3 separate regions of the Homo sapiens genome follow, and all the other regions are linked to region 3. Evidence: promoter capture Hi-C in 16 types of primary human blood cells and fetal thymus (Javierre and others, 2016). All regions are on one chromosome and are shown on one strand. The core of a region is centred on a gene start or on the middle of the fragment in contact, and the rest is flanking DNA. Distances in the headings are between cores, read along the strand shown. Region 1 overlaps AHNAK2 (AHNAK nucleoprotein 2). Region 2 has its middle 4.4 kb from the start of PACS2. Region 3 holds the start of JAG2 (jagged canonical Notch ligand 2).

The links. Contacts are between HindIII fragments. The CHiCAGO score rates a contact against its expected background, and 5 or more counts as called.
Region 1: a fragment that was not itself captured here is called in contact with the fragment with the promoter of JAG2 in region 3 in 1 of 17 cell types (naive CD4 T cells); the score reaches 5.1 in naive CD4 T cells.
Region 2: a contact is called between a fragment that was not itself captured here and the fragment with the promoter of JAG2 in region 3, in 2 of 17 cell types (endothelial precursors and naive CD4 T cells). The highest score is 6.5, in endothelial precursors.

The regions. Positions count from the first base shown.
Region 1 is chr14:104,937,353-104,941,384 of GRCh38, forward strand. It overlaps AHNAK2 (AHNAK nucleoprotein 2), which reads right to left. Exons shown (of 7, transcript NM_138420.4): 7 at 1-4,032. The coding sequence ends at 711. It also overlaps a transcript of PLD4 not described here. Among named protein-coding and RNA genes, the nearest start is that of PLD4, 14 kb to the left of the region's middle. RefSeq lists an enhancer at 2,143-2,643. The HindIII fragment of the contact is 1,198 bases long and covers 2,022-3,219 here.
Region 2 is chr14:105,308,150-105,312,484 of GRCh38, forward strand. It overlaps a transcript of BRF1 not described here, the pseudogene LOC124903409 and a transcript of PACS2 not described here. Among named protein-coding and RNA genes, the nearest start is that of PACS2, 4.4 kb to the right of the region's middle. RefSeq lists a silencer at 3,960-4,120. The HindIII fragment of the contact is 4,673 bases long and covers 1-4,169 here.
Region 3 is chr14:105,167,460-105,172,000 of GRCh38, forward strand. JAG2 (jagged canonical Notch ligand 2) reads right to left here and starts at 1,317. Exons shown (of 26, transcript NM_002226.5): 1 at 896-1,317; 2 at 298-648. The coding sequence starts at 961. RefSeq lists enhancers at 39-538, 3,187-4,023. The HindIII fragment of the contact is 17,945 bases long and covers 1-4,541 here.

The DNA of each region.
Region 1 (4,032 bases), core at 1,371-3,870, 230 kb before region 3:
AGTGTGGGACCGTGCACACTGGCAAGGCACTGGCGGATGCTGGCAGGCCAGTGGACATGGATAGATGAGAATGACAACTCACAGATGTCCTAGCTTCTGCTGGCCCAGCTGCCAGCCACTGGCCATCACCCTTTTGCCCAGCATGTGTGCATTGTCACCCAAAACATCTTGAAACTTGCCATTAGTGAGGCATTCAACAAAGAAGTAAGCTAAGTGAGTAGGAAACAGTGTTTCCTGGAATATACCGCACTCTGCCTGAAATAGGAAAACTATGTTTGCCGGGAAGCAGCAGCAGCAGGAAAGAAGTTATACCAAAAACGACTTGTACACCACAGACATTATAACCCTTTCCTCAAAGAAACAGTCATGTTCTGTTGGGTATTATGGACAGGTCTCTGGAAATTTATCTAATAAAGACCAACAAACTTCCCCAGCAGTGCCTCTGAGTACCGTGTGAATTCTGGTGTCTTGTGGAAGTCAGGGTGCCTTCTTTGCATCCAAAGCTTTGAGGGAGCTGGGAAGCTTTGGTTCCATTTTAGGAGGGCTGTGTGATGGTGACAAAGGTGTTCTGGTCATTTCTGCTCTGTTCTCCGTTCTGTGAAGTGAGGTGGATGTAATGTGCTGTGGGATGGGGTGCTCCATATGTGTGTGTAGCCTTTACTTTCCAACTTAGTTTTTTGCATCTCTCTTGTACTGATGAGCCATACCTCTCAGCCTTCATTTGGTCCCAGGCCTGACCCTTTGCTTTCATCGTCAGCTTTTCTGTCCTGCTCGGGCAGGATTAACTCTGTTCTTGCCGCGGATGTCACCATCACTCTGGAGTCCAGCCCAGTGCCCACAGGCCCGATCAGTTCACCCTCTTCCTTCTCTTCAGGGGAGAAACTTTCTCGGGCATCAAAAAACGTGATTGTTTCTTCTTGAAGTTTTTGTTCTTCCAGCTCTGCCCCATCTTCGGTGCTTTTGCTTTTCTTGGTAGGAGATGAGGAGAACCCTAATTTGGGAAATCGGAACCAGCCTGCCTTCTCCTGTTTTTTAGGCAGTTCTGCCTCTGGTCGTGCCTCAGGCTGTGTTTGAATGGGAGCAGATCTCTGGACGTCATTTTTGGAATCAACACCTGTCTCATCAACAGAAGAGGAAAACCCAATGTTTGGAAGCCAAAACCAGAGCAGACCAGATTTTTTACTTTCTGGTTTGTCTTTTGGAGCCCTGCCTTCATCTGCCAGTGGTGTGGTTGCCTCTTGGCTATCATCAGGGGGAAACTCAAGAATTTCTGCTGGCTCCTCATCTGAACAGCTGTCTGCAAGCTGGTGGCCAGAAGGAACTTCAAATGTGAGTGTTTGCTGTCCCAGTACATTGACGCTGGAAGAGATCATCTCAAATGGTTCTCCAGTGTCAGGCTGGAGATCTCCAGAAATGGAGTCTACTCCTGGGGTGGCTTGTATGGGAGCCTCTTCTGTGCCCTCCTGAGTCCTAGAGTGTTGAGTCATTGTTGTGTACACTCTAGCCTGCGTGTGGGGCTCTGGGATTTTCACTTTTAATAAGGAAAATCCGTACGAAGGTGTTTGAATCTCTGACGTGGGGATCTCTGATTCCCGCACAATCTGAGTGGAAAAAGTCCTGGGTACTGAGAGATCTACAAACTCTGGTGTCACTATGCTGTGTATAGTGACCTCTTGACTTTCAACCTGAGCACCCTGAATATGCACTCTGACCTTTGAAATTGGGGGAGCTTCCAAAGGCAGGTTAAGGTCCACAGGCTGCTCCCCAGGGACCCCAGCACCTGCCTTCAGGATGCTGGCTCCCCAGAGCCCCGGACTTTCCTTACAAAGGGCTGTATCAATATTGGCCTCTGGACACTGCACTTCCCTCACAGTGGGGATGAACACATCATCCTCTGAGCTGGGGGCAGGGAAGGAGAACCTTGGTACCATTAATTTGGGGAATTTGACAGTTAGGACAGAATCTTCCCACAGTTGATCCACATTAACCACAGAAATCTGGGATGGCATATCAGTACTTGAAGCTTTCAATTTAAGTGGACCTTCAGGCTGGGAAGACCATTTCTCTGTTTTATCCTCCATGCTGGCAAGGTCATGTCCTGGCTTGGAAAGAGGAGTCTCATCTATTTCTCCTGGAAGAACCTGGGTTTCTGGAAGCCTCATGCCAGGCATCTGAAAAGGGAGAGGTCCTTTGGATGGATGGATCCTGACCTCAGAAGTGGAAAGCTCATCCCCAGTCATCCCAGCAGTGGAGAGGTGCAGCTTCAAGCCTGTGCTGTCAAGATCACACCTTAGAATATCTGTGGATGATTTGCTCTCAGAAGCTGTCACTTCTGCATCTGCCTCTGGGAGCTGTAGGGACATAGCTGCCTCCACGTTTGACCCAGAAACAAGGAACTCTTTGACTTTAGCTGCTGCTTCACCCCCTGTTGCTGCCGGTGCCTGTGTCTGAGCCACTTCCAGCTTTCCAGCCCCGCCTCTGTCCCTGAAAGAGCGCCTAAGGCTGGGCATGCGGAACTTGGGCATTTTAAACCAGCTTTCCTGCGAGTACTTGGTCATGGCTTCCTCCTCTGGGCTTTCCACTGTGAGGACTTCAGCATCTGGTTTTCTACAGGATGGCTGGAGGGGATCTTCAGGTGTGGGGGCTATCCCCTCCCCACAAGGCTGGCTCACTGGGACATCCCCGAGCCCACATCCTCTGCTGTCACCTTCGGTAGACAGATCATGTTTGGGAAGAGGCAGGTCAGCTTCAGGCTGGCTCACCTCCACCTTGGCCTTGGAGGATCTGAGATCAGGTTTGGCAAAGCCCAAACTGGGAATGTGGACCTGTGGCCGGTGGAGGTTCACACCCTCACTTCCTGTGGCACTTGCTGTTGCACCAAGTCCTCCCCTACCACCGTCACTGCTGGCCTTTTCTGTGTCTTGAAAGCTACCCCCTGCTGTGGCACTAGAAAGGGAAGGATCCACGTCTCTCTGTGGCAGGCTGACCCCACTCTTAGAAGCCTTCATTTTGGGAAGTGCAAGTTTTGGCATGGCAAAGCCAGGCTTTGTGCTCCTCCCCTTCTCTCCATCCCTCTCAGGAGGCAGATCCATGTGGATGGCAGACTGCGGGGCCACTTCATCCTTGTCTAAAACCAGGCTGAGTTTTGAGTCCTCCACGCTGCATTCTGGGTCCACCTTTGGCCCTGTTTCCTTCTTCGGGGACCACCTAAATGATGGAAGCTTAATCTTAGGCATTTTCAAGGGACTCCCTTTCCCTTCGTGGTCAGCATCTTCAGAAGGGGCTTCTCCAGGGGCCACTACTGATGTCTGCAAGGAGGCCACAAGCTCTTCTGGGCCCTGAGACACACAGGTGCCTGGGGATGGCAGCTGGGTGCTTGGCAAGGGGCACTGCACTCTTTCTCCAGGGCTAAGAGGAGACATGACTGGGGCACCCACTGCTGCATGTAGGTCTCCCTCAGGAACTGCCATTTGGGGGACTGAAAACACAAACTTTGGTTTATAGAATTTAGGAAAAGATACCTGACCAAGAGAAACAGGAATCATGGAATTCAGTGGGCCAGAGTGACTCTCAGCTTGAGATGTTGGAACTCCCTCTGGAGGCTGCAGGTCAGTGGAGCACTCTGTCTTGGGAAGAGGAATATCAGCCTGAGACCCAGAAGGAATTTCCAGAGCAAGCTCAGGGGCCAAGGCAGCTCTGGGAACAGTCACCTGGTATTTTGTAAGTGTAACATCCTCACAGGGAGAGAGAATAGAAGATTCAAAGTGAGGACCAGTGAGATCAAGCCGGGATGATGGAAACCCAGCAAAACCCACCTTAGGCATCTGCATGGATGGCTCTGAACAAGCCGAAACCTGTTGTAATTCAAAACTTGAGCATTCTGAAGATGATAAAGGAATCGTGGAAAGACCTATGCTAGACTTTGCACCTGGGACTAAACTATCTTTAGGAGTTTTGGTAGAAGAAAATGAAACTTTGGGCACTTTAAAATGCAGTTTCTTAAACTTCGAATCCATTCCAACTTCTCCAACA
Region 2 (4,335 bases), core at 583-3,082, 140 kb after region 3:
TCCAGCCTGGACCATAGAGTGAGACTCTGTCCCCCCCAAAAAAACAATTAGGCCGGGCACAGTGGCTCACACCTGTTATCCCAGCACTTTGGGAGGCTGAGGTGAGAGGATTGATTGAGCCCAGGTGTTTGAGACCAGCCTGGGAAATATGGCAAAACAGCATCTCTAACAAAAATACAAAAATTAGCCAGGTGTGGTGGTACATGCCTGTGGTCCCAGCTACTCGGGAGGCTGAAGAGGGAGGATTGCCTGAGCCCAGGAGACAGAAGTTGCAGTGAGCTGAGATGGCACCATTGTACTCCAGCCTGGGCACGACAGAGGCAGATTCTGTCTTTTTTTTTTTTTTTTTTTGAGATGGAGTCTTGCTCTGTCGTCCGGGCTGGAGTGCAGTGGTGCAATCTTGGCTCACTGCAACCTCCGCCTCCTGGGTTCAAGTGATTCTCCTGCCTCAGCCTTCTGAGTAGCTGGGATTACAGGTATGAGCCACTGTGCCCAGCTAAGTTTTGCAGTTTTAGTAGAGACAGGGTTTCACCATGTTGGCCAGGCTGGTCTGGAACTCCTGACTTCATGATCCGCCTGCCTCAGCCCCCCAAAGTGCTGGGATTACAGGCATGAGCCACTGTGCCCAGCCATGACTTTGTCTCTAAATAAATAAATAATTTTTTAAAACCCTTAGGGACCCAGCACAGTGGTTCACACTTGTAATCCCAGCACTTTGAGAGGCTGAGGCAGGAGGATGGTTTGAGTCCAGGAGATCTGGCCTACAGTGAGCCATGATGGCACCACTGCACTCCAGCCTGGTTGACAGAGCAAGACCCTGTCAAGAAAACAAAAGAAAAAAAAAGAAAAAGACAAACAAAACCTAACAAAACCAGAAATCCATCCTGCACGAAGAGCACTGAGGTTGAGTGTTGGTTGACACGTGTTGCGGTAATTGCTGTTCTGATGTCTGTGAATGTCCTTGGCTGATTTCTGTATTAGGGCCTGGGTGTTTTCCTTTCTTTTCTAATATTTAAGTTATGTCCTGGCTTATTGTGATGATATTCTATTGTGGGAAAGAAAGAAGTGTTAAAATTTATGCATCAAGGTCCCTCTTAATCTTGGGGCTCAGGATAACCACAGTCAAGAGGGGAGAGTTTTATTCCTGAATCCAGGTCATGCTGTGTTCAACTTTACACCCTGATTTGTCACACAATCACATATCTGAGAATTTCCCCATGTTGCTAAAACTGAGGCAGCGTTCCGTTTTGCTGGTTATTCCACATCCCATGGGGTGGATGTGCCAGGGCAAGTTTTGTCATTTCCCCTGGACTGGACATTCCTTTCTGTAGGTGTTGCTGTTTGAAATATCTCACACACCTGGACCTGTGTCCCTGTTGACATTTCCAGTGTCACCTGCAGGATGCCATGGGATACCCATGAGCCCAGGCAAATCTCCCAAGACGCTGCCAAGCCACTCTGCAGAGCTGCTCTGGGTCCTGCCCCAGGTGCTGTGTGAGGGAGCTGCGCTGCCTGCGCCCAACCCAGGAGGGGAGCAGCGTGCAGGACACCGAGGATGTCATCACGACCTTAGGTCTGTATTAGGTCTAGATTAGCCTGCATTAAGGAGAAGGTGGTGATGTGTGTCTTTTTTTTTTTTTTTTTTTTTTTTTTTTAGACGGAGTCTCACTCTCTTGCCCAGGCAGGAGTGCAGTGGCACAATCTCGGCTCACTGCAAGCTCCGCCTCCTGGATTCAAGCAATTCTCCTGTCTCAGCCTCCCGACTAGCTGGGACTACAGGCGCCCGCCACCACACCCGACTAATTTTTGTATTTTTAGTAGAGACGGGGTTTCAGTGTATTGGTCAGGCTAGTTTTGAACTCCTGACCTGGAGATCCACCCGCCTCGGCCTCCCAAAGTGCTGGGATTACAGGTATGAGCCACCGCACCCAGCCATGTGCATCTTTTTATAATTTACAATTCGTGATAGTAGTGACAACTGTCTCACTTATTCTTTTGTGAATCTTTTGTAGCTTCTCTAACCATTTTCCACTGGGAATTTTTTAGTGGTCTTATGGACTTGTATGATTTCCTTTGATATTAAGAATGTTACCCTAGTGAGCCAGGCACAGTGGCTCACGCCTGTAATCCCAGCACTTTGGGAGGTCGAGGCGGGCGGATCATGAGGTCAGGAGATCAAGACCATCCTGGCTAACACGGTGAAACCCCGTCTCTAATAAAAATACAAAAAATTAGCCAGGCGTGGTGGCAGGCGCCTGTAGTCCCCCCTACTCAGGAGGCTGAGGCAGGAGAATGGCATGAACCCGGGAGGCAGAGCTTGCAGTGAGCTGAGATGGCACCACTGCACTCCAGCCTGGGCGACAGACAGAGCGAGACTCTGTCTCAAAAAAAAAAAAAAAAAAAAAAGAATGTTACCCTAGTGAAACATTCAGTATTCTTACAAAGATCATCCTCAATAGTTTGTTGCGTTGGGTGAGGGTTCCCTTTGCACGTTTGGTTTTTTCAGGACGGGGCGCAGCCCCAGCCAGATGGCGCCCGGCTCTCCAGCCAGCGGCAGCTCACCCTGCTGTGGTTTGATTTTCCCTACACAATTAATACATGTTCATCATGGAGAAAATAGGAGATAAAGATAAGCAAAAAGGAGAAACCAAATCAATGGAATCCCCATCACACAGAGATACTTTCTTAACACTTTGGATTAATTTGTATCCTATCAATATTTTTCTATACCTGAAAATAGGTGTTTTATATGTATAATCACTAACATGTAAATACATACTGCACATGGACATGCATTTTCACATACATTTTTGTTTTCTTGAGACAGAGTTTCACTCTTGTCACCCAGGCTGGAGTGCAGTGGCACAATCTTGGCTCAATGGAACCTCTGCCTGCTGGGTTCAAGCGATTCTCCTGCCTCAGCCTCCCGAGTAGCTGGGATTACAGGCGCGCACCATCATGCCCCACTAATTTTTTGTATTTTTAGTAGAGATGGGGTTTCACTATGTTGGCCAGGATGGTCACAAACTCCTGACCTCAGGTGATCCACCCACTTCGGCCTCCCAAAGTGCTAAGATTACAGGCATGAGCCACTGTGCCCGGCCTTTTTATTTTTATTTTTTGAGATGGAGCCTGGCTCTGTCCCCCAGACTGGAGTGCAGTGGTGTGATCCTGGTTCACTGCAACCTCCACCTCCTGGGTTCAAGTGATTCTCCCACCTCAGCTTCCCAAGTCACTGGGATCACAGATGCGCACCACCATGCCCAGGTACGTTTTTGTATTTTTGTTAGAGATGGGACTTTGCCATATTGCCCAAGCTGGTCTTGAACTCCTGAGGTCACGGGATCTGTGCGCTTTGGCCTCCCAAAGTGCTGGGATTACAGGTGTGAGCCCCTGCGACTGGCCTGTTTTTAGCTACTTTTAACTCACTATTTCTGCCAGCTGTAGAATATTCTATCAGGTTCTATCATGGCTCACCTAACCCTGTTCTACTCTACAACCCCGGGGTTGATTCCAGGCCTCACTCTCAGCAGTTGAGCTGCTCTAAGGGTGACCGTGGGAACTGTCCACAGGTGCGGCTGCGGGTGCAGCGATCTCAGCGGTCTTAGAGCTCTTGGCCATCCCCCACATGGCTTCCCAGAAAATGCCTCCAGGAGGAGGGCCCTGCTGTACCTTTTTTGTGACCATTCCTCCTCAGCCTCAGTCATGGCCATGTGCTCCAACCATGGGAGTGGATGCGGCAGGGCCTGTCTAGGGGTTCGGCAGTTCTGTCCCTCTGCCATAGCATGGGCTGGGCAGGGACCTGGCCACGTGGGGCTGCTTCCTCAGCCCAGCTCCTGGCAGGAGAAGGAGTAGGGGCGCTGTGGGCTGGAGCCGCCAACTGACCAGTGCTGGCCCTGGAGGAGGCCCCTCCCCCACTCCCCGACTTCAGCAGGGCCTGCTGTGTGTCTGTGTCATCTTAGCCCAGGCTGAGGAGATGAATGCGTTTCCAAGCAGCCCATGGTCCTGGCGCCCGACTGGAAAAGCCTGAGCCTTCACCCTAGGTGGAGGGACCTAGCGAAGCCAGGCGGACAGAGGAAAGGCCTCGGCCCATCCTGTCCCATGACTGGGGGTTGGGGCTTCGTCTTTTTAATACCAATGGAATCCTAGCCAAGCATTCAGAACCTTGAAGCTTTAACTTCTTAAATAATAATAACTCCCACAACCTCCGGGGACCCCGGGCAGCACGTGGTAGGACCAGCTTTCAGGTTGTCCTCCTGAGACCCCAGGGCTCTGAAGGATCCTCTTCTTGGACCTCCTCCCCAACCGTGCCCAGCCACCCCAGTCATCCGAGAG
Region 3 (4,541 bases), core at 67-2,566:
CAGACAGACACGCGCAGGGCGACGCAGGCACACGCCGCACACCGCCGCGCACGCGGGACGCCGCCGCCCCGCCCCCGCCGCGACCCCGCTCCCGGTGGCCCCGGGGCCCCGGCGCGCCCACGTGGCCAGGCGCGGACCAAGTCCCCAGAGCACGCGCCCCCTGCCGGCCCCGCCCCGCCTGGGCGCGCGCGGCTCGCACGCAGACCCGGCCGCAGGTGTTGGGGGTCGCGAAGCGCGCGGGGCCGGGGCGCGGAGAGAGAGGGAAGGGCTGGAGCACGAGGGATGGAGCGCACGTACCGGCCAGGCGAACTGGAAGGGGATGACGACGAGGCCCGGGTCCTGGTCGCCGCCGGCCCGGGCCCGCGCCCGCGCTCGGTCCCCCGCAGCGCCCGCCGGCGGCAGGTAGAAGGAGTTGCCGCCCAGCACGGGCGTGGCGCCGTGGCCGTAGCTGCAGGGCCCCGTGGGCGTCACCTTGGCCTGGTACTCCTTAAGGCACACGCGCACGTACGTGTCGCACTCGTCGTGGCCGCAGCCCCCCGCGCGCGTTGTCCGGCCGTCGCCGTCACAGCAGGCGCCGCTCAGCAGCTCCCCGTTCACGTTCCGCAGCGCGCTCAGCTGCAGCTCGAAATAGCCCATGGGCCGCGCCGCCTAAAAATAAGGCAGCGGGAGAGCGGAGGGAGGCGCGGGCCGGGGTCGGCGGGCCGGGCGCCAGGGGTGGGGGAACAGGCCCCGCCGCCCCGCCCCCACCCAGCCGCGCCCGCCCGGAGCCCCAGCCGCCGCGCGCAGCCTCGAGGGCTTCCGAACCACGGCGGCCCCAGGCAGTGCCCGCCCGGCCCCTAGGGGCGGCCCGGTGTGCCCCGTCCGCGACCCCCGCCGCCCCCGCCGCCCCGCTCACCTGCACCCAGAGCGCCAGCAGCAGCAGCAGCCGCCGGGGAAGGCGCCCCCGGCCCTGCGCCCGCATTGCCCCCGCGACCCGCCCGCCCGGCCCCGCCGCCGCCGCCCGCGCCCGGCTCCCAGCCGCCGCGCCGGCCTCCCAGCGCCCGCCCGCCCTCCGAGCGCCCGCAGAGGCAGCGGCAGCGGCAGAGGCGGCGGCGGCGGCGGCGCGGGCGGGGTCGAGCGCAGCGCCGCGGCGCGCGGGCCTGGGCGGCGGGCGTGCAGGGGCGGCGGCAGCTCCGGCTCGCTGGCGGCCGCGCTCCGGCTGCCCGGCCCGGCTCCCACCCGGCGGCGACGGCGGCGGCGGTGAAGGCAGCGGGTCCCGGCCTCGGCTCTGCGCGCCCGCGCTCCCGGCACCGCAGCCAACAAGTTCGGAACGAGACTGACAGCTCGCTCGCCCATTCGTCACCCGCGCACCTGCATATGCATGAGGGGGCGGGGCCGCGCCGCGGGGTGGGGCCGGGGGGGGGTCCGGGGGCGCCCCAGGCTTTAAAGGCGGTGGAGGGCGTCGCCTGCCAGCGCCCCGGCCCGGCGCGCGCCCCCCAGGGCGCCCGGGCGGCGGGGGCACGGGGCCTCGGGGTCAGCGCGGGCCGCGGGGGCCCCGCTCACACCTCCGCGTGAGTCGGCGAGGCGTGCGCCGGCGCCGCAAAGCTGCCTCCCCTCCTCCGCCTGGGCTCCTGCCGGGTGTCAGAAACCGGGGGTGGGGCGCCCCGAGGTTGCCGTGTGGTCCCCTCCCATCAGTGCGCCACCGCCGCGCTCCTCGCAGTCCCAGAGGAGATGCCGCCTCCTACTCTGATCAGGGCTCGGCCCCCACGCGGGGTGGCGCGGCCCTGGGGCCAGAGCCGGGCCCAGCCCCTACTGCGCGCCCCCCACCTCCTCCGAGAATCTCCCCTTCTCCGCGCCGCTCCTACCGCCTCCACGCCGGCTGCAGGGGGCGCTGCGCCCCTCCGACGCCCCTGCCTTCCCCTCTGCGAGGCGCGCTGGTCAAGCAGCCAGTCAACAAATGCTCCAGGGTGCAGACTGCTCAGCTCGGCGCTGGCGTCGAGGTAGCCAGGCCATGCCCTCAGGAAATGCTCAGGCCACATTCCCCGTTTCCCGCCTCTCGCCCCCCAAACTCAGGTCTGGGCTTGGGGGGCGAGAGGCGGGAAATGGGGAACAAAAGTCGGCAGTGCCTGTCCCTGAAGGCTACCCCGAGAGAGGCCTCCCACTGCTGCCCTGGTCACCAGGCTTCCACACCCCATCCTCTGCGGTCACCTCCTTGCCCTCTCCCTGGGTGACCTCGCAGCTCCTCCACAGGGTCAAAACCAATGGCACCTTCCTCTCCTCCAGTGAGCACGGTCCTTTCCAGAGCTAGGGGTCACCTTGGTGGTTAAAGATCCCCATATGGTCCAGAGGGGTCCTCAACCCATCCCCATGATAACTGAGCTGTCTTCTCTCCCCCTAGCTCCTCTCGCAAATTTGCCCTGTGCCCGGAGCTGGGTGGCTGTGCAGCCCCCCAGCCTGGAGCAAGTCACTGCCACCATGCTGCTGGGGCTGAGGGCTGAAGGAAGAGAGCTTTGGAGGCACAGGGCCTGTGAACACCCCATGCGCAGGGTCTGCCTGCTCCATCCCTGTTTAGCAGCTCCTCCAGGATCCAGGCCGCAGGCTCAGCTGAAGGTCCCTAAAGGGGTGGGTGGGAGCCCCCCATGCCCACCTCAGCTGGCTCTGCTCAGAGTGCCCACCCCAAACTTGGTGGTGGGTAGGCTTCGTGGGGATTAAGACACAAGCCAGGATGAGGCCCGCACAGAGACCCCCACCAAACAAGAGAATCCAAGCTGTGTTCAGAGCCTTCCAGTTGCCGCCTTCCGGTGTGTGGGCGGTGATTACCGCCTACGGGGGGAGGGGCTCCCTGTGGAGATGCCACCTCTCCTGTGCTTTGGCCTGGGGGCAGGTACTCGGGTACTCGAGAGAGGGAAGCCCCAGGACAGAGAAGCCCCCTGCCCGGCTCCAGAGGCCCAGGGCTCCATCCCCACCTGCGCCCACTGCCCCACTATGGTGGGGGAGGGGGTGCTGGGTGCCTCTGCTGGGCACTTGGCCAAGTGGTGAACAAGGGAGACTCCGCCCCTGCACACCCTCAGGAGCCCCCAGCCCGGGGGTGGACAGAGGACTTAGACAAGTCATACAGAAGCTGGCATAGGGGGCCGCCAGAGCGTGGACGGGCATGGGTCAGCCAGACCTCACGATGTCCATGAGAGCACCCAGGTCAGGAAGGTGGCCGCACCTGCCCTTAGGAAGGAGGGGGACATAGGAGGCATCGGAGAGGGGGTCCCTTCCCTGCAGGAATTTCAGCAGCCCTTGAGCCAGAAATGCCAGGCAGCTGGACCCTGGTTTGAGTTTCCAGAAGGCAGCAGTGGGAACCCTCGCCCCTCATACATATTTCACAAAACACATTTGCCCCCTGCTGCACCTTGCTGGGGTGAGGGGCTGAGATCAGTGGCGGCCAGGGCTCCAGCCCCAACCCTCACCAGACCAGGCTACCTGGTCTCTTCTAGTAAGGGACCTCGTCATTGTTCTGGGGCCCACTGGACCACAGCACCCTCCAGCCTCCCAGAGCCACCCGTCCCCCAGCCTGGAGGGCTCCCACTCTGAGCGCTGGGCGGTGCCCAGCTTGTATGCAGAGGGCAAGGGTGCAGCTGCTCAGCCTGGCCAGGGGCTCTGGGCCCATAGGGCAGTCCTGGGGACCAGGCTGAGGACGGGCTGCCAGGGGTTTGGACAGAGCCGGCGAGGCTCCAGAGTAAGCTGTGCTTCCGCTGGGTCCTGCAGTGCTAAATATAGCAGACGGGGAGGGGAGTTTCCGGTTACAACCCCCCCTCCAGTGCCGGGAAATCAATGCCAGCTCCATTAGGCCCGGCAGCACTGCCTGCTGACCCACCCCATCGGGCTGCGGAGCAAAGTGAGGGGCTGGACTACACCCAGGTCCGGGTGCCCTGTCACCTGTCCCCTCAGTGCTTCAGGGGCCAGACCCACCTGGTGCCTGCGAGAGGTCCCTCTGAGGTAGTGGGAGGCCTCTGCTGGTCAACCCGGAGGGCCCATCGCACTCTCGTGGTGTCACCAGGCAGGCTGCTGGTAAGGGCAGCACAGCAAGGCTGCTGTGGGTCAGGCAGAGCTCCTGTCCTGTGAATGTCCTGCTGGGGCCTCATCTGGGTAGAGTGAAGCTGAGGCTGGCCAAGACCCGCACACCCCATACCTGGCAGCCCCTCCCTGGCACACACCCCATACCTGACAGCCCCTCCCCGGCAGCCCTGTCGCTGGCCTTGCTGATGCCCACAGGGCCCCACCTGGGCCACAGCCAGCATTTGCATACAGGTGGCACTGCTTTTGTGGGCCCCTGAGGCACAGCCTCCTCAGGACAGCCTCCAATGCCAGGCTGTCCAGCACTGTGCTGGATGACAACAGGGGGTCAGTCTCCACCTCCCTGCCCAGGGTTCCACCCTGCAGGGTACTGAGGCTCCCTTCACTTCACTGTCCCCTTCTCTACTTTCCTCCTGGGAGCCACAGCCTGGACCTAATGATGTCCAGGAGCGGATCGATCCTGCCGCAGACTGATGGCCCAGCAGTGCCCTCGAATG